Regions from separate parts of the Homo sapiens genome. Here regions 1, 3, 4, 5, 6 and 7 are each linked to region 2. Evidence: promoter capture Hi-C in 16 types of primary human blood cells and fetal thymus (Javierre and others, 2016). All regions are on one chromosome and are shown on one strand. Each heading gives the region's core, a stretch centred on a gene start or on the middle of the fragment in contact. The rest is flanking DNA. Distances are from core to core; before and after follow the strand shown.

Region 1 (3,271 bases), core at 694-3,193, 370 kb before region 2:
GTAACACACGTTTCCATCAACTCAAGGATAAAATGTGGTATTCATACATTATTATTCAACATAAAAACAAATGAAGTACTGATATACGCTATAACACAATAAAATTCAAAGAACATTAATCTAAGTAGAAGATGCCAGTCACAATGGACCACACATTATACATTATGACTCCATAGGCAAAACTAGAGAAATAAAAAAGTAGGATGGTAGTCATTCAAGACTAGGAGGGACGGAGGGATTGGGGAATGCTGGCTAACAGGTGCAGCGTTTCTTTTTGGGGCCACGGAAAGGTTCTAAGTTGATTGTGTTGATGATTGTACAACCCTATAAATATATTAAAAACCTATTGTACAGTTTAGGGCCAGGCATGGTGGCTCACACCTATAATCCCAGCATTTTGGGAGGCCGAGATGGGAGGATCACTTGAGGCCAGGAATTCGAGACCAGCCTGGTCAAGAGTGGGAGACCCCCATCTGTATTTAAAAAAAAAACCAAAAACTATTGTACAGTTTAAATGGGTAAATCGAATGGTATATGATTTATAGCACAAACTGTTACCAAAAAAAACCAAGTGGCAAGAGGCTATTATCTACTTGCAGAGCAATCCCTCTACTCTCTACTTCCAACCAGCCAGGACCAACCTAGCGGCTGGTCAGGTAAAAACCAAAGGTGGAGTCAATGGCACTGGTGGAAGGTGGGGGAGTAGGCATGAAGCAAAGACTAAGCAGCAGCTCTGATTACAGTGGGGAAAAGCCAGAGGGCGTGGAGGGACCCACTGGACCTTCCTTCTCCTTAGTTCTGGTTTACTTAAGCTGAACTGTGAGTTTAACTCAAGTACTACACAGACATGGGCCTATATACATAGTACAGGAAAGAAACAGCTACCGGAAATCATAAAAGGGACAGAGAAGAGTTCCTTTTACTGCCCATTTATTACCGTGCGGGTTAAAAAACGGGAAAAGAGGCCGGGCGTGGTGGCTCACCCCTGTAATCCTAACACTTCAGGAGGCTGAGGCAGGCGGATCATGAGGTACACGCCCAGGGAAGAGAAGGGACTTGTCCAAATGTCACTCAAGTACTTGGTCCATAACATTAAGCTTTGTAATTCACCAGGTTAAATGTGACATCACTGTTCCATCCACCCTACCAACACTCCAAAGAAACTCAACTTCCTGTTCCCTCTTGAGGAAGTAAAACTTACCAGATAAAAAGGGGAACGAGGTGGTGGGGGGGGCTGGCGTCGAGGCCGGGGGCCACCAAACGAGGTAGCAGTGGAGGGAGGGCTGGGGGGACCAGAGCGCAATGTCAGTGTGTCAGGCTCATCCTTGGAAACAGGCAGCCGGGATACCATGGTGACAGGCAAGGGAGCGGCACCAGATGCCGAAACCACAAGGGAAGATGCCTGGGAAGCTGGGGACTGTGTGGAGGCTGGGGCCAGCGCCAAGGTCTGAGCTGCGGCCGGGCCCAGGGTAGGAACTGGGGCAGGGCTCAAGGTCAGTGTCTGCACTGAAGCTGGGGCCAGGAGTGAAGCAGATGACGATGCTGGAGCCAAAGTCAGCGTGTGAGCTGGGGCTGGGCCCACTGGAGAAGCTGGAGCCAGAGGGGGTGCTGGAGCCAGAGACAGCGTCTGAGTTGGACCCAGTGGTGGTCCTGGTGCCAAAGACAGTGTCTGGGCTGGAGTTGGTACCAGGGATGATGCTGGAGTTAATGACAATGTCTGAGTTGGAAAGGGTCCCTGGGGGTTCCCCGTTCCCAAAGAGAGTGTCTGAGATGGAGATGAGCCTCCAAGAGTGGGTGCTAAAGCTGGGGCTAGGGCCAGTGTCTGCGTAGAAGCCGGGCTCGGGAGAGGTGACGGAACCGGGGCTGGTAGCATAGTTTGAGTTGATGATGGAGCCAACACAGGGGTTGGAGCTGGTACCGGTGAAGCTGAGGCTAAAGAGGTTCCTGGAGTAGACGATGGAGCCATAACTGGAACCGGAGTCTGTGATGAAGCCAGGACAGGAGCAGCACCTGGCGATGGTGCCAGGACCGGAAGAGGAGCCAGAGGAGGAGCTGGAGAAGGAGCCAGAATTGCTGTCTGTGGAGCCGCCATAGGAGCCAGAGGGGTGGCTAGAGCCTGAGATGCAGAAGATGCTGGAGCCAGAAGGGAAGCCTGAGCTGGAGCTGGATTTGGTGCTGACGGAAAAGGACTGGCCAGAGCCGAAGCTGGCACCAGGACAGGTGAGCATGCTGGGGCCACGGTTGAGTTCAACCCTGGAACATGTGAAGAGGTGGGAGCCAACAACAGAGGGTGACCAGGTGTCTGAGATGAAGACAGGGATGGAGCTGTGGCCAAACCTAGAGTCAAGGCTGATGCTGACGGGGAAGCACCAGATGGTGCCAAGGAGGGAGGTCCAGGAGCCGCTGGGACAACAGGTGCCAATGGTGGAGTCACACTGGTCAACAGAGCTGGGCCCGAAGCAGAAACAGTCAAGGGGGCTGAGATGGGGATGGTGAGTGGAGCCGAGGCTGGGGCAGGAAGTGTGGTGGGGACAGAGATGGGGAGTGAAGATGACAATGGAACTGAGACTGTAGAGGACACAGGACTAGCAAGGGGAGAGGAGTTGGGAATTGGCATTGGAGAAGAGGCTGGCCCAGGGAGGGAGGATGGCACGTGGAGAGGAGAAGAGATGGTCAAGGGGGCAGCTCCGGGGGCTGAAGCTGTGGAGAGAGAGGATGAGTTAGCCCCAGAATTCTTTTCCTGAGCCTTTCTACTCCCTGTCCCATCTTTCCCATACCCCCAAGCTTCCCATTTCCCAGAAGGCATTCACTCCCACAACATGAAGTCAAACATCCAAGTAATCTGACAACTTTAGATTTTCTTCCCCTCCAAGATTCCAGCAAATAGATCTTGAAATTAGGTCAGGGCTCAGGCAGCCCAGTTCTGGGGCCCACTACAAATCAAGGCAGTACGCTGATATGAAAAAACCTGTACTAAAACTAAGAAACCTTGAGGCGACCCCATCTCGTCTCCATTCCTGGCAAGGATTTCTGGCCTCAGCCACCTGGACTCACCACTGACTTCAGGTGAAGGACTGTGGACCAGCTTGAGAAGAGGCCTCACCAGAGTGGGTGTGGGCATGGGGGCTCGAGCAGTACCCAGAGTAGGTGTGGGTAGCCGGCCAGGGGTTAACGTGGGGCGTGGATTCAACACAGCTGGAAGCCCAGAGCTCGGAGGCCGGGGTGCTGGGGCCAATGGAGGAACAGGAGTCAGTCCATCCCGAGGGGCTTG
Region 2 (3,063 bases), core at 187-2,686:
CCTGGCACAGCTCCCAGTATTGGGTTTTGGTGGGGGGGGAGGGGGGACAGCAGCCCAGCCAGCCGCCTCCAGCTCGCGCCAGCCAGTGCCCACAGCCAAGTCTCCAGCTCTTCCTGGGTTTCTGCAGCCAGCTTGTAGGCCCGCCCACCTGTGCCCTCCACCCCAGGGGTCAGGATGGTAAAGGCATAGGGTTCTGCAGCCTTAAGGTGTGGTTCCACCTGGCAGTTCTCTAACAGGATGAGGCTCAGGGGTGCATGGTCGGTCTAGTGTTCTAGGTAGAAGAGGAGGTTTCCTCGGAGGATGAACCATCGGCGCTGGTAGCTGAGGTTTCGGGTCCCCTTCTTTAGCAGAATGCCTTCCTGGTCTGGGGCCTGTGTTCTGTAACCATGGAAGAAACTGAGCACGGACTTTCTGTGCAGTTTTCATCGTGATCCAATATGGGAGGAAACCCCTAGGGAGAGAGAAGTGGCCCATCTAGTTGCCTGGGGGAAGAGTAGGGGAACTCTCATGCTGTCCTCGTCTGGCTTCAGCACGTGCTGCCTGCGCACAGTCTTGGCTTAGGGGGATGCAGGCTCCGAGTGTCAAGAGCTAGGGGTCCCAGCACAGGGGCTGATCCCCGCTACCTCCCCAATTCCCCCTTCTGCTTGGGCCACATTCCGCTACCTGGGCAGGAGTTGCTAGGCCCTGTTTGCTCAGGGGGGCTTCATGCTGCAGAGAGGCACTGTTGCCCTTTTCCAGGCCTACCTGAGAGCAGGGCACAAGGGGCTTCTGGCCTGAGTACTGGCGCCAATGCCACCTCTCCAGTGATGGCTCTCCCACCTCAGAAACCAGGAACTCGCCCAGGGTATGGGCGTGGGACAAATTATTTCCCCTGGGTCCTAAAGGGAGGTGTGTTCAGAAAGTGCCCGGAGAGCCGTCCAGGGGCCCCAGGCTGGCCATCGGGAGAGTCAGGCTTCCCCTCGGAGAGGCAAGGCTGCACCTCTCAGGCTAGGAGGGCTGACCACTGGACCATAGGAATGGGAAGGCAGGATTTCTAACGAGACGGTAGGGGCGCTGAGCCCTTAGCCCTGGGGGAAGGGTGACTTGAACCCAGGACAGGAAAACGGAGCAGCAACCCACTGACCCTGCTCGGACTTTGCCCCTCCATCCTGACCCTGGGCGGCCCTTTAAGCAGATGCGCTCCAGTTTTTCTCCAGAGCCTCTACTGCTTGAATGACGGACTCGAAGCTACTTCCGGCCATTTCTCACGCCCAGTCAGAGTCCAGGAATTCTTAGGTTCCCTCTTCTCACCATTGTCCTCCCACGTGACTGACGTCACTTCTGGCGGGAGAGAGGGTGGAGGCGTCTTCGCTCGCTTATCGCATACTTCCGCCCGCTCTTCCAGTTAGTTCCCTAACCCGAGTGAAGCCACTTCCGGGCTTCCCGGGCGCCTTCCGCAGTCCTCTTCCGGGTGATGGCGGCCGGGTGCCCCGGATGTAGCCCTGGCGCAAGCATCTCTTCTTTTTTCCACCTCGCCTTCCGCGGATTCCCAGGTGAGTGCGCGAGGGTGGGACCGCCCGAATCCCCGTGGCCCTCTAAGTTGTACACAGCCCGGGACAGTTGGGGCTCACCACACGGAATTGGGAGTTCGGAGCAGGGAGGAACGGGGTGGCGAGAGCGCCAGGTCCTGGGTCTGCCGGGGCCCGGCGAGCTCCGAGAGAGCCAGGGTAGAGAGCGGGGGTCAGCCCGTGGAGCCGGTGGCGCGCAGACTGCGGGGGCTGGAGTTGGGGGCGGTCACGTGGTGAAGCCTGTCTCCTTTCAGCCAGGGTCGGGGGATCCAGAGGGTCCGCTCCTCCGTCCCCGCCCCGTTTAACTCGCGGATGCTAGACCCAAGTCCTGGAGGCCTCCTGGCTGCCAGCTTCCTTTCGGCCCCTGCTTTTGTGCTCCCTCCGCTCCCAAACTGTACCTGTCACAGACCAGGAAAAATGTTTGCTGTGCTGCGTCTGTTGGCGAGTCCCCTCCTCACCCGGTTCCCTTCCTCTGCATCCTTTCCTCAGCTTGAGAAACACCTCTTTGCCCCGTCATGCCAAAGAGGAAAGTGACCTTCCAAGGCGTGGGAGATGAGGAGGATGAGGATGAAATCATTGTCCCCAAGAAGAAGGTGAGGGGGCCAGACTGCTTTGTGTGGGGGAAAGAGGAGCTAGAAGCCTGAAGAGGAAGAAAGCTGGCGGGAGAGGGGCGGGGCGGGCAGGCAGAGAAAAGCCTAGTTTTTTCAGGTTCTCTGAGGAATGGGTTGGGAGCGTCTTTAGTGTGGCTCCTGAAATATTTGGGGAAGTAGTCGAGATCCTGAAATATTTGGGGAATATTTGGGTCCAGATCCGGAAGTATTTGGGGAGGTAGCCAGTAACCTGCATTTCTCAACTTTCTGGCTCCTGCTCACAGCTGGTGGACCCTGTGGCTGGGTCAGGGGGTCCTGGGAGCCGCTTTAAAGGCAAACACTCTTTGGATAGCGATGAGGAGGAGGATGATGATGATGGGGGGTCCAGCAAATATGACATCTTGGCCTCAGAGGATGTAGAAGGTAAGCTGTACCCAAGAATACACTCTGCTGGAAAAACAAGTAGGGGCCTCTGGTGGTGTGGAGCGAGGGAGGCTCCGGTCTCTTTTTTCCATGCCTGGAAAAGGGCACCTGTGTCTTTGGTGCAGGTCAGGAGGCAGCCACACTCCCCAGCGAGGGGGGTGTTCGGATCACACCCTTTAACCTGCAGGAGGAGATGGAGGAAGGCCACTTTGATGCCGATGGCAACTACTTCCTGAACCGGGATGCTCAGATCCGAGACAGCTGGCTGGACAACATTGACTGGGTGCGGCCCAGGGGCTGGCGTGGCTGGGGCCTGGGAGTGGCAGATGCTGGGCCTGCTCCCGTGGCAGTTGGTGGGAAATCACTCCATCTTCCCATTACAGGTGAAGATCCGGGAGCGGCCACCTGGCCAGCGCCAGGCCTCAGACTCGGAGGAGGAGGACAGCTTGGGCCAGACCTCAATGAGTGCCCAAGCCCTCTTGGAGGGACTTTTGGAGCTCCTA
Region 3 (3,276 bases), core at 777-3,276, 500 kb after region 2:
ATTAGCGGGCTTGGTGACGCGTGCCTGTAATCCCAGCTACTCGGGAGGCTAAGGCAGGAGAATTGCTTGAACCCGGGAGGCGGAGGTTGCAGTGAGCCAAGATTGCGCCATTGCACTCCAGCCTGGGCGACAGAGCAAGACTCTGTCTCGGAAAAAAAAAAACAAAAAACAAAAAACAGTGTATTCAACAGGTGTTTACTGGAGGCCTACTGTGTGCCCTGCATAAGCAGTTGGGGTTCCAGAAGGCATGCTTAGAGGGAGGATGGAGAGGGAAGGGTGATGGCTTCTGGAGGGTTGACTAATTTTTTAATCTGTTCTCCAGACCCAACTGTAAGGCTTCCCCTGAGGCATCAAGTCTCTATCTAGCCCTGGAGTCTTGGTTCTGGGGTTGATGAGTTGCAGACATAGCTTTCCTCTCCTCCTACCCTGTTCCCTCCACTCTCATGCCTTTCTCAGTTCATGCCATGGTGACCTTTGCCCACTGACCTCACACACAGCCTGTTTTCTAGCCTGCGTTCCTCCCCAGGCAGGCGGACACTTCCAGTCTTCGTTTACACCCTGCGTCAGAGTGATAAACCAAATATGGGCACCTGTCCTGCATCCACTGTGCCATAACAGCCCTTGCCCACCTAATCTTCCAGGAACCCGGTTTGGGGCCATGCTGGACATGCTGACGGACCGCTGCTCCACCATGTGCCTGTTGGTCAACCTGGCCCTGCTGTACCCTGGAGCCACGCTGTTCTTCCAAATCAGCATGAGTTTGGATGTGGCCAGTCACTGGCTGCACCTCCACAGGTCTGCTGCGATTCTGGGGGCCTGGGCCACTTGGAGACATTACAGTGGGGTGGGCTGAGCCTAGACGGAAGGGTGTCTGGGATGGCACTAGGCATCCTGGAAGGGCTCCTTTTTAGCTCTGCTTTGTAGAAAGACCCCAGGCAAACCTGCCTCTCTTTAAAGCTTCAGTCATGTTTACAGTTGCATTAAGCAATTCTTAGGACTCTTCTGGCTGGGTATTCTAGGATTCCATATAGGTGACAGCTTATAGGAAGGGGCATGGGAGCTTTCAAATGTGGCATTTGAATCCTGACTCTGCCCCCAAATAGGTAACTGTGGCTTTCGGCAGGATACTGGTCCTTAGCCGTGCCCAGTTTTCCATCTGTACAATAGGTGTTAACATGAGGATTGGATGCATGGTAGTGGTCATGAAACCTTGTGGGTTCCCCTGTTTTCTCCCCAAGTTCTGTGGTCCGAGGCAGTGAGAGTCACAAGATGATCGACTTGTCCGGGAATCCGGTGCTTCGGATCTACTACACCTCGAGGGTAAGCATTTCCTGCACACCCCACCCCTCAGGCTCTTGGCTGTGGGAAGCCCTGGGCTGAATCCTGGTCCTAGCCTAGGAGAAGGCGAGGGCGCAGAGCAGGGCCTGCCCAGTCACTCCAGGAGGAGGGCCCGTAAGCTGAGGCGTGGAGGAGGAGGATTGGTGGGGAAGGCCTGTGTGAATTACTCCAGGGAACAAGTGGGAATGAGGCCTGCAAAGAGAAGGGACTGAAAGCGGGAAGGGAGATAAGCCAGAGAGGTCTGCAGGGCTGGAGTGTGGACTTGATTCCAGGAACACAGGCAGCCTCTGGAAGGATTTTTAAAAAGATAATGGCTGGGCATGGTGGCTCATGCCTGTAATCCCAGCGCTTTGGGAGGCTGAGGTGGGAGGATTGCTTGAGGCCAGGAGTTTGAGACCAGCCTGGGCAACAAAGTGAGACTCTGTTTCCACACACACACAAAATCTTGAATTAGCTTAGCCAGGCACAGTGGTACACGCCTGTAGTCTCTACTTAGGAGGCTAAGGTGGAAGGATTGCGTGAGACCAAGGGTTTATTTATTTATTTATTTATTTTTTTGAGACAGAGTCCTGCTCTGTCACCCAGGCTGGAGTTCAGTGGCGGGTTATCGGCTCACTGCAACCTCTGCCTGCTGGGTTCAAGCGATTCTTGTGCCTCAGCCTCCTGAGTGGCTGGGACTACCGGCACGTGCCACCACACTCGGCTAATTTTTGTATTGTTAGTAGAGAGGGGTTTCGCCACGTTGGCCAGGCTGGTCCCAAACTCCTGACCTCAGGTGATCCGCCTGTCTCAGCCTCCCAAAGTGCTGGGACTCCAGGCATGAGCCACACGCCTGGCTGAGACCAGGAGTTTTGAGGCTGCAGTGCTATGATCATACTACTGCATTCCAACCTGGATGAGAGAGCGAGACCCTGTCTGTAAAAAAGAAAAAAAAATAAGAGAAGTAATATGCCGAGATTGTGCCTTCATTAGTGCTGGGGGGGCAGGGGGTGGCACACGCCTGCCTCTTGCTAACGTGGCCTGTTTGCTGTGTGTGCAGCCTGCTCTGTTCACCTTGTGTGCTGGGAATGAGCTCTTCTACTGCCTCCTCTACCTGTTCCATTTCTCTGAGGGACCTTTAGGTAGGAGATGAGGGGCTGGGCAGGAGGATGGGAGGGGGATCTGGCCTGCCCAGGGAGATGGAGGCCCCCTCCTTCGGGCCCCAAACTCCCCTGCTGCCTTCCTGCAGTTGGCTCTGTGGGACTGTTCCGGATGGGCCTCTGGGTCACTGCCCCCATCGCCTTGCTGAAGTCGCTCATCAGCGTCATCCACCTGATCACGGCCGCCCGCAACATGGCTGCCCTGGACGCAGCAGACCGCGCCAAGAAGAAGTGACGCTGGAGCCCCGGGTCCTGGCTGCCCACCTGCCCTGGGAGTCTTGCTGTGCCACACAGCTCCCCACCCCCTGCTAGGAGGTCCCAGTCTCACGCCTTCCTCATGTGTTGTTCTACCTGCTGGGATGGGGGTCAGCCTCTCTTTGGTGACGTCACGTTCTCTGGGATCCTGAGGACCCGGGCCTCAAATCAGGGAGGATACGCGGGAGGCCCCCTCCATCCAGGCGGTGCTCCTGGGGTGCCGGGACCGGGCAGTGTCACACCCTGCCTGCTCAGTCCTGGGGTCCGAGATGCTAGGGACGCTTGAGTGAGGGAGGTGGTGTGAGGGCCAGGTTTCCTGAAAGGCGGGAGTCAGACCTCCGCCCCCAGCCAGAGCAAGCTTGGGGCACCATGCCCAGGAGGGAAGAAGCCATCCACAGCCTTCCCTGTCACCGGCTCCTCTGTCCTGCCTACCCTGGTCCTGGCGGGACTTCACTATTTGACTTGGTTTCCTTTCAGATATTCTTGGCTCAGGGCCTGGGTTGAGGGAGCTTAGGGAAGGACGTCCGTCTGGGTGCTTTTCCTC
Region 4 (3,189 bases), core at 573-3,072, 390 kb after region 2:
GAGCACCCCCTCCCCGGAAAGCCCCCGCCCCGAACGATTGCAACGCCCTCGTCCCCTCCCGGTCTCGCGCGTCGGATCCGCCAGCCGCTCGCTCTTACCCCTCGGGGCCGGGCGGAGGCCGGCGCCCCCCGCGACGTCACGAGCGGGGCCGCGAGGGGGCGGGGTCCGTGCTCTGCGCTTCCGTCCCCGACCCTCCTCCTCGCGCGGCCCCGCCCCGCGGCCGGGTCCGCATGCGCAGTGGCCACGCGGGCGCCAGCCTCGCAGCTCACCGCCAGGGTGGGGGCGTACCAAAGGGACACCCAAGGAAGGAGCCACCAGAAAGGAAAACCTCCGTGGGAGGGGTGGAAACGGGAGCGAGGCCAGGGAGCAAGTGCGAGAAACGTCGCAGAACCCGTAGGCTCCCTCCAGAGAGACTGGCGAGAACTGCCCCAGAAGCTTGTCGCGGGCATTTTTGGGCTGTGCGTCCCCTACCCGCGCCAATAGCACAGACCAGCCGCGCCCGGGTTCCCGGTGAGGACTCGGCATCCGCTCAGAGTTGCAGGGCTGCCACTTGAGGACTCTGTCCACTGGGGCTGGGAGTGGTGTTTTGGACTCCGCTCTTCTGTGCACCCCGATCTGCACCTTTCTCGTGGACCCTGACTTTTAGTGACTCCTTAATGTATAGGATGCTGGAGCTGAAGAGTTGCTCAGTAGAGAGCATCTCAGTTCACTTCTGCCCAAGTTTTGGAGGTGAGAACATCTGACTGGAGGTAGCATGACACATGGAGCCAGGAACTTTGGGTTCAAATCCTGACTGTCCGTACCCTCGCATAAGCCATAGCCGCGCTCTCAGGGGACTAAGCTTACCCCTCTACTAAAGAGGATCATCCTATCTATCTCACCGGTTGGATCAGAAGCTTAAAGGGTAAAATGTGGGAAAACATGGGCCCAGTGCCCACTAAGCACACAGGACAGATGCTACTTGAAACGGAATCTATTTAATTCGACTGTGGCTTCCTTAAGGCAGAGGCCATGTCGTTTGTATCAACAGCCACAAAAGTTTGTGGCACAAAACCTTCGCATATACAAATGATTTTTTTTTTTTTTGAGACGGGGTCTCAGTCTGTCGCCAGGCTGGAGTGTAGTGGCGCGATCTCGACTCACTGCAACCTCCGCCTCCCGGATTCAAGCTATTCTTCTGCCTCAGCCTTCCGAGTAGCTGGGACTACAGGCGCACGCCACCACGCCCAGCTAATTTTTGTATTTTTAGTAGAGACGAGGTTTCACCATGTTGGCCGGGATGGTCTTGATCTCTTGACTTCGTGGTCTGCCCGCATCGGCCCCCCAAAGTGCTGGGATTACAAGCGTGAACCACCACACCCGGCCGATTTTTTTTTTTTTTTTTTTTTTTTTTTGACAGAGCCTTGCTCTGTCATCGCCCAGGCTGGAGTTCAGTGGCACAATCAAAGCTCGCTGCAGTCTGGACGTCTTGGGCTCAAGAGATCCTCCCGCCTTAGCCTCCTGGGTAGTTGAGACAGCCGGTAGTCACACGCCACCCACCATGCCCAGCTAACTTTTGCATTGTGTGTAGAGACGGGGTTTTGCCATTTGCCATGTTGCCCAGGCATGTCTCGAACTCCTGACCTCAAGCAGTCCTCTCGCCTCGGCCTCCCAAAGTGCTGGGATTACAGGCGTGAGCCACTGTGCCCTGACTAGTCAAATGATTTTTGACAAGGGTGCTGTGGGCGTTCAGTAGAGAAAAGAGTCTTTTCTGTGCATCGAAGGACACAACAGGCTGGGCACGGTGGCTCAAGCCTGTAATCCTAGCACTTTGGGAGGCCGAGGCGGGTGGATCACCTGAGGTCAGGAGTTTGAGACCAGCCTGGCCAACATGGTGAAACCCCATCTCTACTAAAAGTACAAAATTAGCCAGGCATGGTGCCGGGCGCCTATAATCCCAGCTACTCCGGAGGCTAAGGCTGGAGAATCGCTTGAACCTGGGGAGTGGAGGTTGCAGTGAGCTGAGATTGCACCACTTCACTCCAGCCTGGGCAAAAGATCAAAACTCTGCCCCACAAAAAACAAAAACAAAAAAAGGAAAGGACAGTGAAAAGGCAACCAACAGAATGAGAGGAAATATCAAATCATATATCTTATAAGGGGTTAATATCTATAATATATAAAGAACTCCTACAACTCAACAACAGCCCAATCTCAGCTCACCTCAACCTCTGCCTCTCAGGCTCAAGGGATTCTCCTGCCTCAGCCTCCCGAGTAACTGAGATTACAGGCACACGCCACTATCACCTGACTAATTTTTGTACTTATTAGTAGAGACAGGGTTTCACCATATTGGCCAGGCTGATCTCAAACTCCTGACCTCAAATGATCCACCCGCCTTGGCCTCCCAAAGTACTAGGATTATAGGCGTGAGCCACCGCGCCCGGCCTAATTTTTTGTATTTTTAGTAGAGATGGGGTTTCATCATGTTGGCCAGGCTGGTCTCAAATTCCTGACCTCAGGTGATCCACCCGCCTCAGACTCACGAAGTGCTGGGATTACAGGTGTGAACCACCGCACCAGCCAAGTATACCAACATTTTGACTTAATCCACTCAACAAGCCCTCAAAGTGGATGTTATTCTGGAAAGCTGGCCCTTAGTTTAAGTCAGGGGTCCCCAACCCCTGGGCCGTGGGGCCAGTACCAGTCCGTGACGTGTTAGGAACTGAGCCGCACAGCAGGAAGTGAATGGCTGGTGAGAGAAGCTTCATCTGTATTTACAGCTACTCCCCATTGCCTGCATTACCGCCTCAGCTCTGCTTCCTGTCAGATCAGTAGCGGCATTAGATTATCATAGGAGCATGAATCCTATTGTGAACTGCGCATGCGAGGGATCTAGGTTGCTCCTTATGAGAATCTAATGCCTGATGATCTCTCACTGTCTCCCATCAACATCAGATGGGACTATCTAGTTGCAGGAAAACAAACTCAGGGATCCCACTGATTCTACTTTATGATGAGTTGTATAATTATTTTATTATACCTTATAATGTAATAATAATAGAAATAAAGTGCAAAATAAATGTAATGTGCTTGAATCATCCCGAAACCATTCCTCCCCTGGTGGAAAAATTGTCTTCCATGAAACTGGTCCCCAGTGCCAAAAAGGTTGGGGACTGCTGGTTTAATTTAACCAAGGTCATACATATA
Region 5 (3,267 bases), core at 615-3,114, 320 kb before region 2:
CTCGAACTCCTGACCTCAGGTGATCTGCCTACTTCAGCCTCCCAAAGATTACAGGCAGAGACGGCACGCCTGGCCCTTGGAATTCTGTCATTAGCTTCTGTAATTGTCCTCTTTCATAGTCCAATGTAAGCTCCAGGATGGCTGGGGTTTGTTTTGTGTACCTCTGTATCCCCAGCCACTAAGTGCAGTGCCTGGCACTGTGGATGAAGTCAACAGTGGTTGAAAGAATCAAAGGCAGCTCAGAAACTGCATCAAGTGAGGGAAGAGGGAGGTTTCTGACTTGAGTGCTGATGACACAGAGATGGAAACCTTGGGGGAAGTGGGGCATCAGATCTCGAAGATGACTTAATTTGGGATATCTGAGGTGCTTGGGGAGAGATCTAGGAGAGGTGGGATAGGCATGTCTAGAAAATATTTAACTCTACTGGGCACGGTGGCTCACGCCTGTAATCCCGGCATTTTGGGAGGCTGAGGCGGGCGGATCACCTGAGGTCAGGAGTTCGAGACGAGGCTGGCCAACATTTAGTGTGACTCCTGTCTCTACTAAAAATACAAAAAATTAGCCAGGCATGGTGTTGCATGCCTGTAATCCCAGCTACTTGCGAGGCTGAGACAGGAGAATCGCTTGAATCTGGGAGGCGCAGGTTGCAGTGACCTGAGATTGTGCCACTGCACTCCAGCCTGGACAACAGAGCAAGACTCTGTCTAAAAAAAAAAAAAAGAGAGAGAGAAAGAAAGAAAATATTTCACTGAGAGTCACTCTCAAATGCCTATAGGGGCCAGAGAGGTAGCCTGAATAGTGACTGTGGTCTACTCCAAGACAACAAGTGGAGGGGACAGTCGCAATCTGGTGAGATTATGCCCCATTTCAAAGGAAAGCCATGGGGGTAAGCAGGTCTAGTGACCACAGATTTTTGGATTTTTCAAGAGAAGCTGAAAACAAGAACTTCCATGTGAAATCTTGTCTGCAAGCCAACGTTCACCTTCTGGTCACTTGTTTCTGACTTCTGTTGGAGCAATCTAGGCTTGAGCCTTCCCTAGACATCCTGGATATGTGTGGTGGTGGCAGGGAATGTTGGCTGCATCTTTCCTAAGGCAACAGGTACATTTATGGGCCAGGCACAGTGGCTCACGCCTGTAATTCCAGCGCTTTCAGAAGTTGAGGCAGGAGGATTGCTTGGGACCAGGAGTTTGAGACCAGCTTGGACAACAAGACAAGAACCCTGTCTCTACAAAAATTTAAAGCTAGCCAAATGTGGTGGCACAGGCTTGTAGTTCCAGCTACTCGAGAGGCTGAGGCAGGAGGATCACTTGGGAATAGGAGTTCGAGGCTGAAGTGATCTGTGATTGCACCACTGTACTCCAGCCTGGGCAACAGACCGGCTGTTGTTTTGCTCAAAAGCTGCCTCAAAAGCAAAACAAGTCTGGGTGTGGTGGCTCACACCTGTAATCCCTGGACTTTGGGAGGCCAAGGGGGTAGATAGCTTGAGTCCAGGAGTTTGAGACCAGCCTGGGCAACATGGAAAAATTCTGTTTCTACAAAAAATACAAAAACTAGCTGGGTGTGGTGGTGCATGCCTATAGTCCCAGCTACTCGGGAGGCTGAGGCGGGAGGACTGCTTGAGCCCAGGAGGTGGAGGTTGCAGTGAGCTGAAATCATACTACTACACTCTAACCTGGGTGATAGAGTGAGACCCTGTCTCAAAAAAGAAAAAAAGCAGGCATACTTAGAATAAGGTCACTCAGTCAATTCTATAGGAGCTCAGGTAGGCAACAGCCCTGACAGCCCAGTTTAGTAGTGACTTGCTTTTTTTTTTTTTTTTTAGACAGAGTCTCGCCCCGTCACCCAGGCTGGAAAATCTCAGCTCACTGCAACCTCCGCCTCCCGGATTCAAGTGATTCTCCCGCCTCAGCCTCCTGAGTAGCTGGGACTACAGGAGTCAGCCACCATGCCCAGCTTTTTGTATTCTGTAGTAGAGACAGGGTTTCACCATGTTGACCAGGCTGATCTTGAACTCCTGACCTCAGGGATGTACCCATCTTGGCTTCCCAAAGTTCTGGGATCACAGGCGTGAACCACCACGCCTGGCCTTCGTGTTTGAGTCACATTTGGTTAATTCTCCCATTATCTCAAACTTTTCCATTATTGTATCTATTATAGTGATCTGTGATCTTTGATGTTACTATTGTAATTGCTTTGGGGTGCCACAAACAGTGCCCATGTAAGAGGGCGAACTCAATCAATAAATGTGTGTTAACTGTTCTCTCTCTGTGCTTGGGCCTCCCTCTTCCCAGAGACAATATTCAAACTAGGCCAATTAATAACACCCTACAATGGCCTCTAAGTGTTCAAGTGAAAGGAAGAGGCAATCAAGGAGGCAAAGTTCCTTGTTGTCAAGAAACCGCCGTCATCCCAGCCTTCACCGACCACCACCTCAGTCAGTCAGCAGCCATCACCAATGAGGCAAGAACTTCCACCAGCAAAAAGATTACGACTTGCAAAAGCTCAGATGACTGTTAGCATTTAAAAAATTAAGGGATGTACCGTTTTCATAGACATAACACTATTGCTCACTTAAGACTGCAGTATTGTGGAACAGTAATTTTTTTTTTTTTTGGAAATGGAGTCTCGCTCTGTCGCCCAGGCTGGAGTGCAGTGGCGTTACCTCAGCTCACCGCAACCTCAACCTCCTGGGTTCAAGCAATTCTCCTGCTTCAGCCTCCTGAGTAGCTGGGACTACAGGCGCACGCTATCATGCTTGGCTAATTTTTGTATTTTTAGTGGAGACAGGGTTTCACCATGTTGGCCAGGATGGTCTACAATCTCCTGACCTCGTGATCCATCTGCCTCAACCTCCCAAAGTGCTGGGATTACAGGCGTGAGCCACCATGCCCAGCCAGAACCATAACATTTATATGCACCAGGAAATGAAAAAATTCATGTGCCTCGCTTTGTTGCAGTGACCTGTAGTAGCTAGAAAAATAACTGGAGGAATTTCCCCGAAAATTAACAGTGGTTGCCAGGTGCGGTGGCTCACGCCTGTAATCCCAGCACTTTGTGAGGCCAAGGCAGGCAGATCACCTGAGGTTGGGAGTTAGAGACCAGCCCGACCAACATAGAGAAACCCCATCTCTATTAAAAAAAAAAAAAAAAAAAAAAACAAAATTAGCCAGGCGTGGTGGCGCATGCCTGTAATCCCAGCTACTCGGGAGGCTGAGGCAGGAGAATCGCTTGAACCCGGGAGACAGAGGTTGCGGTGAGCCGAG
Region 6 (2,987 bases), core at 177-2,676, 350 kb before region 2:
GGGTAGTACTTAAGAAATAATTACAACTTACTATACAGGCAGTGGGAACTTTGACGGAATTTAAGCATGTGCTAAGTGGCACAAATACATTTCAGTAAACACATGCTAAATGCCCTGCAAGGGACAGATGGCCTAGAGGTGTCAAGGAGAACTATTAACAATCCCCAAAGGCAGGACCCATATTTTGCCACTATACTTTTTTATCCATACAACATAAACGTCATTAGAGTTGCCTGAAATTATATTTACTCCCTCAAGAAGTTTTGATCATTCCTACTACCACGCCATCTACCAATCTAATCCAAGGCCATTTTCCTTTCCTGATCCCCACTGTCTACCTTCTCCACATTGCTCCAGAACTGCCTGACATCCTTGGCCATGGTGGAAGCAATTCGACGCAGCTTGGCCTGCTCCTCCCTCCGGGCCCGTTCCTCTTTCTGCCGCTGCTCCTCGTGGTGCCGGATCACCATGCGCACCACCTGTGGGAATGAAGACCCAGGGTGAAAACACTCAAAGCCAGACTTCCCCACCCAAAGGCAAAGAAAATAATCAAGGCCAAGAAATCTGGAAAATCAAGAGTTTGCTCTTAATGCCTACACCATTCTGTCTGGTCCCCTTCCAACAAACCGGGAAGGAACAGACCTGAAAAGGAAAAGGAAGGAAGTCCCAGCGGAAGACCTACCTTCCGGGCCACACCCCGTTTCCAACGGCGCTCCTGAGCAAAGTCAGCAGAGAGCCACTGCATCTCTTCGCACAAATAGTCCCAGTGACCTTTGGGGCGAGGGGGCTCTGGCACCTTAGGCAGCCTCTTCAGTGACCAGAAACCCTCCTTCCGCAGCTCAGCAATCCGAGTCTCGATCTCGGCCTCCTAATCAGGGAGAGCCAGATCAATCAACAGTTCTAAACACACACTCCATCTCACTGCCACGGCTGAATTCCTGAGCACTAAGTGGGCTGAGTGTGTTATGCTTATGTTTAGTCCACATACCAAACTTACAGGCAGGTATCATACTCTCTTCAGAGAAGGGAAAAAAGATCAGGGAGATGAAGAAGGAAAAAAGATCAGGGAGATTAAGTGATTTGCCCAAGATCACACAGCTAGAAAGTAATAGAAAATGTGAATCAAAAATAGGTCTGAGGACTCCAGACAGCAAATTTCATGCTCTTTCCATTATTTAACACAATCTCCACACCCCATAGACATAGGAGAGACTTGGGAAATCATATCCCAAGAGGAGCTTCCCAGAGGAGTAGGGAACACATACTTCCCTCTTGATTCTAGATACAAGGGGTCATCATCATTGTAGAATTCTACTTACTCAGAGTATTTTCATGATGCATTAAGCTTAGAAATATGCTATAATGCCCAACTGACACACTGTTGTTTTTAAAAATACTACTTTTGTAAAAATGCATATGTTTATGTAAAAAATACTGAAACGTTATACGTGAAATGTTTAACACTGATTAGGTGTAAAAAAGAGTGGTCATTTTTACTAAAGCTTCTACACTGATTGTCTTTTATTTAAAAAGCATTTAAAATTTTTTTGACAGAGACGACTCAAAAAATTCAGGACAACTGCCTTATTTCTTTTTCTGAATCTCACTCAGAAATCTGAGTGAGATTTTTCTGGGTCTCACTCTGCTGCCTAGGCTCAGGTTATCTTCCCAACTCAGCCTCCCAACTCAGCCTCCCAGGTAGCTGAGACTGACTATAGGCACATGCAACCATGCCCAGCTAATTTTTTTGTATTTTTCGTAGGGGCGAGGTTTCACAATGTCAAGGCTGGTCTGGAACTCCTGGGTTTAAGCAATCCGCCTGCCTGGGATTCCCAAAATGCTCAGATTATAGGCGAAAACCACCGCACCCAGCCTCTGTCTTTGTTATTTCTGTCCTCTCCTGATAAAAACTAAATCAGAGAAAATGACAGCCAGAGACCAGACAGGACTAAATGGCCTGACAGTGAAGGAAACATCAAGAAAGACGTGGATATTAGACCAGCTGCTCTCAAACTTGAGGAGGCACCGGAATCATCTGGAGGACTTTTAGAAACAGGTTGTGCTCACACCTGTAATCCCAGCACTTTGGGAGGCCAAGGCGGGTGGATCACAAGGTCAGGAGATCGAGACCATCTTGGCTAAAACGGTGAAACCCCGTGTCTACTAAAAACACAAAAAATTAGCCAGGCATAGTGGCGAGCGCTTAGTCCCAGCTACTCGGGAGGCTGAGGCAGGAGAATGGCGTGAACCCAGGAGGCGGAGCTTGCAGTGAGCCGAGATCATGCCACTGCACTCCAGCCTCAGCGAAAGACTGAGACTCCGTCTCAAGGAAAAAAAAAAAAACCCAATTGTGGCCGGGCGCAGTGGCTCATGCCTGTAATCCCAGCACTTTCAGAGGCCGAGGCTGGCAGATCACAAGGTCAAGAGATCAAGACCATCCCGCCAACATGGTGAAACCCCATCTCTACTAAAAATACAAAAAATTTAGCCGGGTGTGATGGCGGGCGCCTGTAGTCCTAGCTACTCAGGAGGCTGAGGCCAGAGAATGGCTGTGAACCCGGGAGGCGGAGCTTGCAGTGAGCCAAAATTCTGCCACTGCACTCCAGCCTGGGCGACAGAGCGAGACTCCGTCTCAACAAAATAAATAAATAAAATAAAAATAAAAATAAAAAATAAAAACATTGCTGGGCCCTACCCTCATAGTTTCAAATGGGTCGGTGGGTGAGAGGTACCAAGAATTTGCATTTTTTTTTGAGACAGAGTCTCACTGTTACCCAGGCTGGTGTGCAGTGGCATCATCTCAGGTCACTGCAACCTCCGGTTCCCAGTTCAAGCAATTTCCCTGCCTCAGCTTCCTGAGTAGCTAGGACTACAGGCCTGCGCCACCACGCCAGGCTAATTTTTGTATTTTTAGCAGAGATGGGATTTTGCCACGTTGGCCAGGCTGGTCTCGAACTCCTGACCTCAGGTGATCCACCCGCCTCGGC
Region 7 (3,043 bases), core at 58-2,557, 290 kb before region 2:
CTAGCCTGGGCGACAGAGACCCTGTCTCAAAACAGACAAACAAACAAGGGATGATATGGAAAGCATAATCGAGAAGGGCTTATGTGGGAAATGGAGGCTCCCCAGCTCCGTCCCTAAGGACTCATGCAGGGAGACGTTCTTGCAGGACTACAGCATCTCTGTAACAGGAGGTCCGCTGGGTCCTCTGGAAACCCATTCAGACTTCTGGTGGGAGCAGGCCGCCGTGGTTCTTCCACGTAGAGGTGTTTCTCTCCCTCTGGATCAGGGCTGGCAGTATGGGTGCCTGAGGAGGTACAGTGATGTTTCATCCAGCTGTGAGTGCTTGGAGATTCTTTCAACCTTGCCAAATTAAGACCTAAACCCCACAGGTGCTTTTCAGGCCCCAGGGCAGGAAAAACTTTCAAAAGCAGAGCAGGCCTAACCTGAGTTTTTAGGTATTTTTTGTTTGTTTGTTTTTTGTTTTTGAGACGCTCTGTCGCCCAGGCTGGAGTGCAGTGGCGCCATCTCAGCTCACTACAACCTCCGCCTCCTGGGTTCAAGCGATTCTCGTGCCTCAGCCTCCCAAGTATCTGGGACGACAGGTGCTCACCACCACGGCCGGCTAGTTTTTTGTATTTTTAGTAGAGACGGGGTTTCGCCATGTTGGCCAAGCTGGTCTCGAACTCCTGGCCTCAAGTGATCTGCCCGCCTCGGCCTCCCAAATTGCTGGGATTATAGGCATGAGCCACCACACCTGGCCCTAATCTGAGTTTTGATTCTCTAGGTCTCTTGAAGTCAATGACACCAAGGGTAAAAGATGTAGTCCAAAGAAAAGTCCTGGACCTGAGTATTTGGTAGGAAGAGCCCACCAGTGTGACCCTAACTTGGGGTGCTAGAGTTCATCAAATGGAAGTCTAAGGTAGACTGTGGCAGTCTTGGCCCTTAGCCCAGGCCAGCAAATGTGAGCCCTCATGATCTTGCGGTCTCACCTCTGCTCTTTTTGTGACTTCCCATTTCAACAACTTTACTTTGCCCACTGCCTACACAGGTGGTGGACACACTGTGGGGTGTACCACAGTGTATGCTGATGCATTAGCAAGAGGGCCCCACACAGCCTCCAGTGGGGCTGCTGGTGTGGCCGTGGGTGCACTTCAGTGTGTCATTATTCAGAAACTCAGGGTCCGTTTAGACTCTGGGCGGCCCATCTTTCTTTTTTCTTTTCTTAGACAAGGTCTTGGTCTGTCACCCAGGCTGGAGTGCAGTGGTGTGATCATGGCTCACTGTAGCCTTGACCTCCTGGGCTCAAGTGATCCTCCCACCTCAGCCTCCCAAGTAGCTGGGACTATAGGTGTCCGCCACCACGCCCGGCTAATTTTTTGTATTTTTAGTAGAGATGGGGTTTCACTGTGTTAGCCAGGATGGTCTCGATCTCCTGACCTCGTGATCCGCCCACCTCGGCCTCCCCAAGTGTTGGGATTACAGGCGTGAGCCACCGCGCCTGGCCTGGACCCTTTAAATATATATATATATTTAAATTTTTTTTACCAGCCAGCATCATGCTAAGTTTTGTCAATAGATGGCTGGAGAGACATTGCAGGAAGAAAGAGTTTTGCTTCCCAGTTCAGCAAACCCTCCTGGGAGGCTCCTGCAGCACAAGTGGGTTCCCAGCTCCCTGCTTCTGCAGGGCAGGGTGGCCAGCAGAACCCCAGGGTCAGCAGCTCCCCCAGGTGCCCTCTGGATGGTTTTGCAGTGGAGTTCCTCTGTGGAGACACCTGCCCATGAACAGCTTTCCCTGGCACCCAAGAGGGTGGATTTCCAGCAAGTTCCACCAGACTGACACTCCAGCAACTACTGTACTTCAGCGACTTCTGTACTTCTGTGCCCTCTCCAAAAACTTGTGGATCTCAGGAAGGAAGGAGGTCTGTCTTTCTTTCTTTCTTTCTTTTCTTTCTTTCTTTCTTTCTTTCTTTCTTTCTTTCTTTCTTTCTTTCTTTCTTTCTTTCTTTCTTTCTTTCTCTTTCTTTCTTTCCTTCCTTCCTTCCTTCCTTTCCTTCCTTCCTTCCTTCTTTCTTTTTCCTTCCTTCCTTCCTTCCTTCCTTCCTTCCTTCCTTCCTTCCTTCCTTCCTTCTCTCTCTCTCTCTTTCTTTCTTTCGACAGGGTCTCACTCTGTCACCCAGACTGGAGTGTGGTGGCTCACCACAACCTCCGCCTCCCAGGCTCAAGCGATTCTGCCTTAGCCTCCCAAGTAGCTGGGATTACGGGCACATGCCACCATGCCTGTCTAATTTTTGTATTTTTAGTAGAGATGGGGTTTCACCATGTTGACCAGGCTGGTCTCAAACTCCTGACCTCAAATGATCCACCCGCTATGGCCTCCCAAAGTGCTGGGGTTACAGGCATGAGCCACCGCGCCTGGCCAGAAGGAGCCTTTTTCTTGTATGCTCTGTCTCCGCCTGAGAGGAGCTGTGGCTGCTCCTTGTATTAGGTTGGTGCAAAAATAACTGTGGTTTTTGTCATTAAAAGTAATGGCAAAACCGCAATTACTTTTGCACCAACCTAATATCTGCTCTTCTTGCATTTTTTTTTTTAGAATTCTGTTTACTTCTTATTATCTGTAGTGGGCAGAATTTTGTCTCCCCACCTCCCCCCCACCCCACCAAAGATATTTTCAAATCTTGAACCTTTCACTTCCTCTGAATCTGACCTTATTTTGTTGTTGTTGTTGTTGTTGTTGTTGTTGCTGTTGTTGTTTGACACAGGATCTTGCTCTGTTACCCAGGCTGCAGTGCAGTGGCTGGATCTTGGCTCACTGCAGCCCTGACCCCCTGGGTTCAAGCAGTCCTCCTGCCTCAGCCTCCCGAGTAGCTGGGACCACAGTCACATACCTCCACACCCTGCTAATTTTTATTTTTATTTATTTATTTTTTTGAGATGGAATCTCGCTCTGTCACCAGGCTGGAGTGCAATGGCGCGATCTCGCCTCACTGCAACCTCCACCTGCAGGGTTCAAGTGATTCTCCTGCCTCAGCCTCCCAAGTAGCTGGGACTACAGGTATGTGCCACC

Evidence for each region. Contacts are between HindIII fragments. The CHiCAGO score rates a contact against its expected background, and 5 or more counts as called.
Region 1: a contact is called between a fragment that was not itself captured here and the fragment with the promoter of CD2BP2 in region 2, in 1 of 17 cell types (M0 macrophages). The highest score is 5.1, in M0 macrophages.
Region 3: a contact is called between a fragment that was not itself captured here and the fragment with the promoter of CD2BP2 in region 2, in 1 of 17 cell types (monocytes). The highest score is 5.5, in monocytes.
Region 4: a fragment that was not itself captured here is called in contact with the fragment with the promoter of CD2BP2 in region 2 in 1 of 17 cell types (non-activated CD4 T cells); the score reaches 5.1 in non-activated CD4 T cells.
Region 5: a fragment that was not itself captured here is called in contact with the fragment with the promoter of CD2BP2 in region 2 in 1 of 17 cell types (total CD8 T cells); the score reaches 5.0 in total CD8 T cells.
Region 6: a fragment that was not itself captured here is called in contact with the fragment with the promoter of CD2BP2 in region 2 in 6 of 17 cell types (total B cells, total CD4 T cells, naive CD4 T cells and 3 more); the score reaches 7.3 in total B cells.
Region 7: a fragment that was not itself captured here is called in contact with the fragment with the promoter of CD2BP2 in region 2 in 9 of 17 cell types (megakaryocytes, total CD8 T cells, non-activated CD4 T cells and 6 more); the score reaches 9.9 in megakaryocytes.

What each region holds. Positions count from the first base shown.
Region 1 is chr16:30,723,013-30,726,283 of GRCh38, reverse strand. SRCAP (Snf2 related CREBBP activator protein) reads right to left here. Exons shown (of 34, transcript NM_006662.3): 24 at 3,055-3,271; 25 at 1,202-2,700. Among named protein-coding and RNA genes, the nearest start is that of SNORA30, 14 kb to the right of the region's middle. The HindIII fragment of the contact is 1,687 bases long and covers 1,100-2,786 here.
Region 2 is chr16:30,353,681-30,356,743 of GRCh38, reverse strand. CD2BP2 (CD2 cytoplasmic tail binding protein 2) reads left to right here and starts at 1,436. Exons shown (of 7, transcript NM_006110.3): 1 at 1,436-1,532; 2 at 2,037-2,140; 3 at 2,422-2,560; 4 at 2,686-2,843; 5 at 2,944-3,063. The coding sequence starts at 2,063. It overlaps CD2BP2-DT (CD2BP2 divergent transcript), which reads right to left and starts at 1,310. Exons shown (of 2, transcript NR_184233.1): 1 at 1,124-1,310; 2 at 1-451. RefSeq lists enhancers at 1,265-1,324, 1,405-1,464, 519-1,470, 1,202-1,496, 1,187-2,386 and 1 more. The HindIII fragment of the contact is 7,065 bases long and covers 1-3,063 here.
Region 3 is chr16:29,858,625-29,861,900 of GRCh38, reverse strand. It overlaps CDIPT (CDP-diacylglycerol--inositol 3-phosphatidyltransferase), which reads left to right. Exons shown (of 6, transcript NM_006319.5): 3 at 642-795; 4 at 1,239-1,320; 5 at 2,378-2,459; 6 at 2,567-3,276. The coding sequence ends at 2,712. Among named protein-coding and RNA genes, the nearest start is that of CDIPT, 3.0 kb to the left of the region's middle. RefSeq lists an enhancer at 710-1,248. The HindIII fragment of the contact is 2,133 bases long and covers 960-3,092 here.
Region 4 is chr16:29,959,042-29,962,230 of GRCh38, reverse strand. It overlaps TMEM219 (transmembrane protein 219), which reads right to left and starts at 152. Exons shown (of 6, transcript NM_001083613.2): 1 at 99-152. RefSeq lists a silencer at 1-319 and an enhancer at 670-779. The HindIII fragment of the contact is 1,848 bases long and covers 899-2,746 here.
Region 5 is chr16:30,671,427-30,674,693 of GRCh38, reverse strand. No RefSeq gene overlaps it. Among named protein-coding and RNA genes, the nearest start is that of FBRS, 15 kb to the right of the region's middle. The HindIII fragment of the contact is 4,963 bases long and covers 1-3,267 here.
Region 6 is chr16:30,705,064-30,708,050 of GRCh38, reverse strand. SRCAP (Snf2 related CREBBP activator protein) reads right to left here. Exons shown (of 34, transcript NM_006662.3): 5 at 683-868; 6 at 339-479. Among named protein-coding and RNA genes, the nearest start is that of SNORA30, 4.0 kb to the left of the region's middle. The HindIII fragment of the contact is 157 bases long and covers 1,348-1,504 here.
Region 7 is chr16:30,646,172-30,649,214 of GRCh38, reverse strand. No RefSeq gene overlaps it. Among named protein-coding and RNA genes, the nearest start is that of PRR14, 3.3 kb to the left of the region's middle. The HindIII fragment of the contact is 4,473 bases long and covers 1-3,043 here.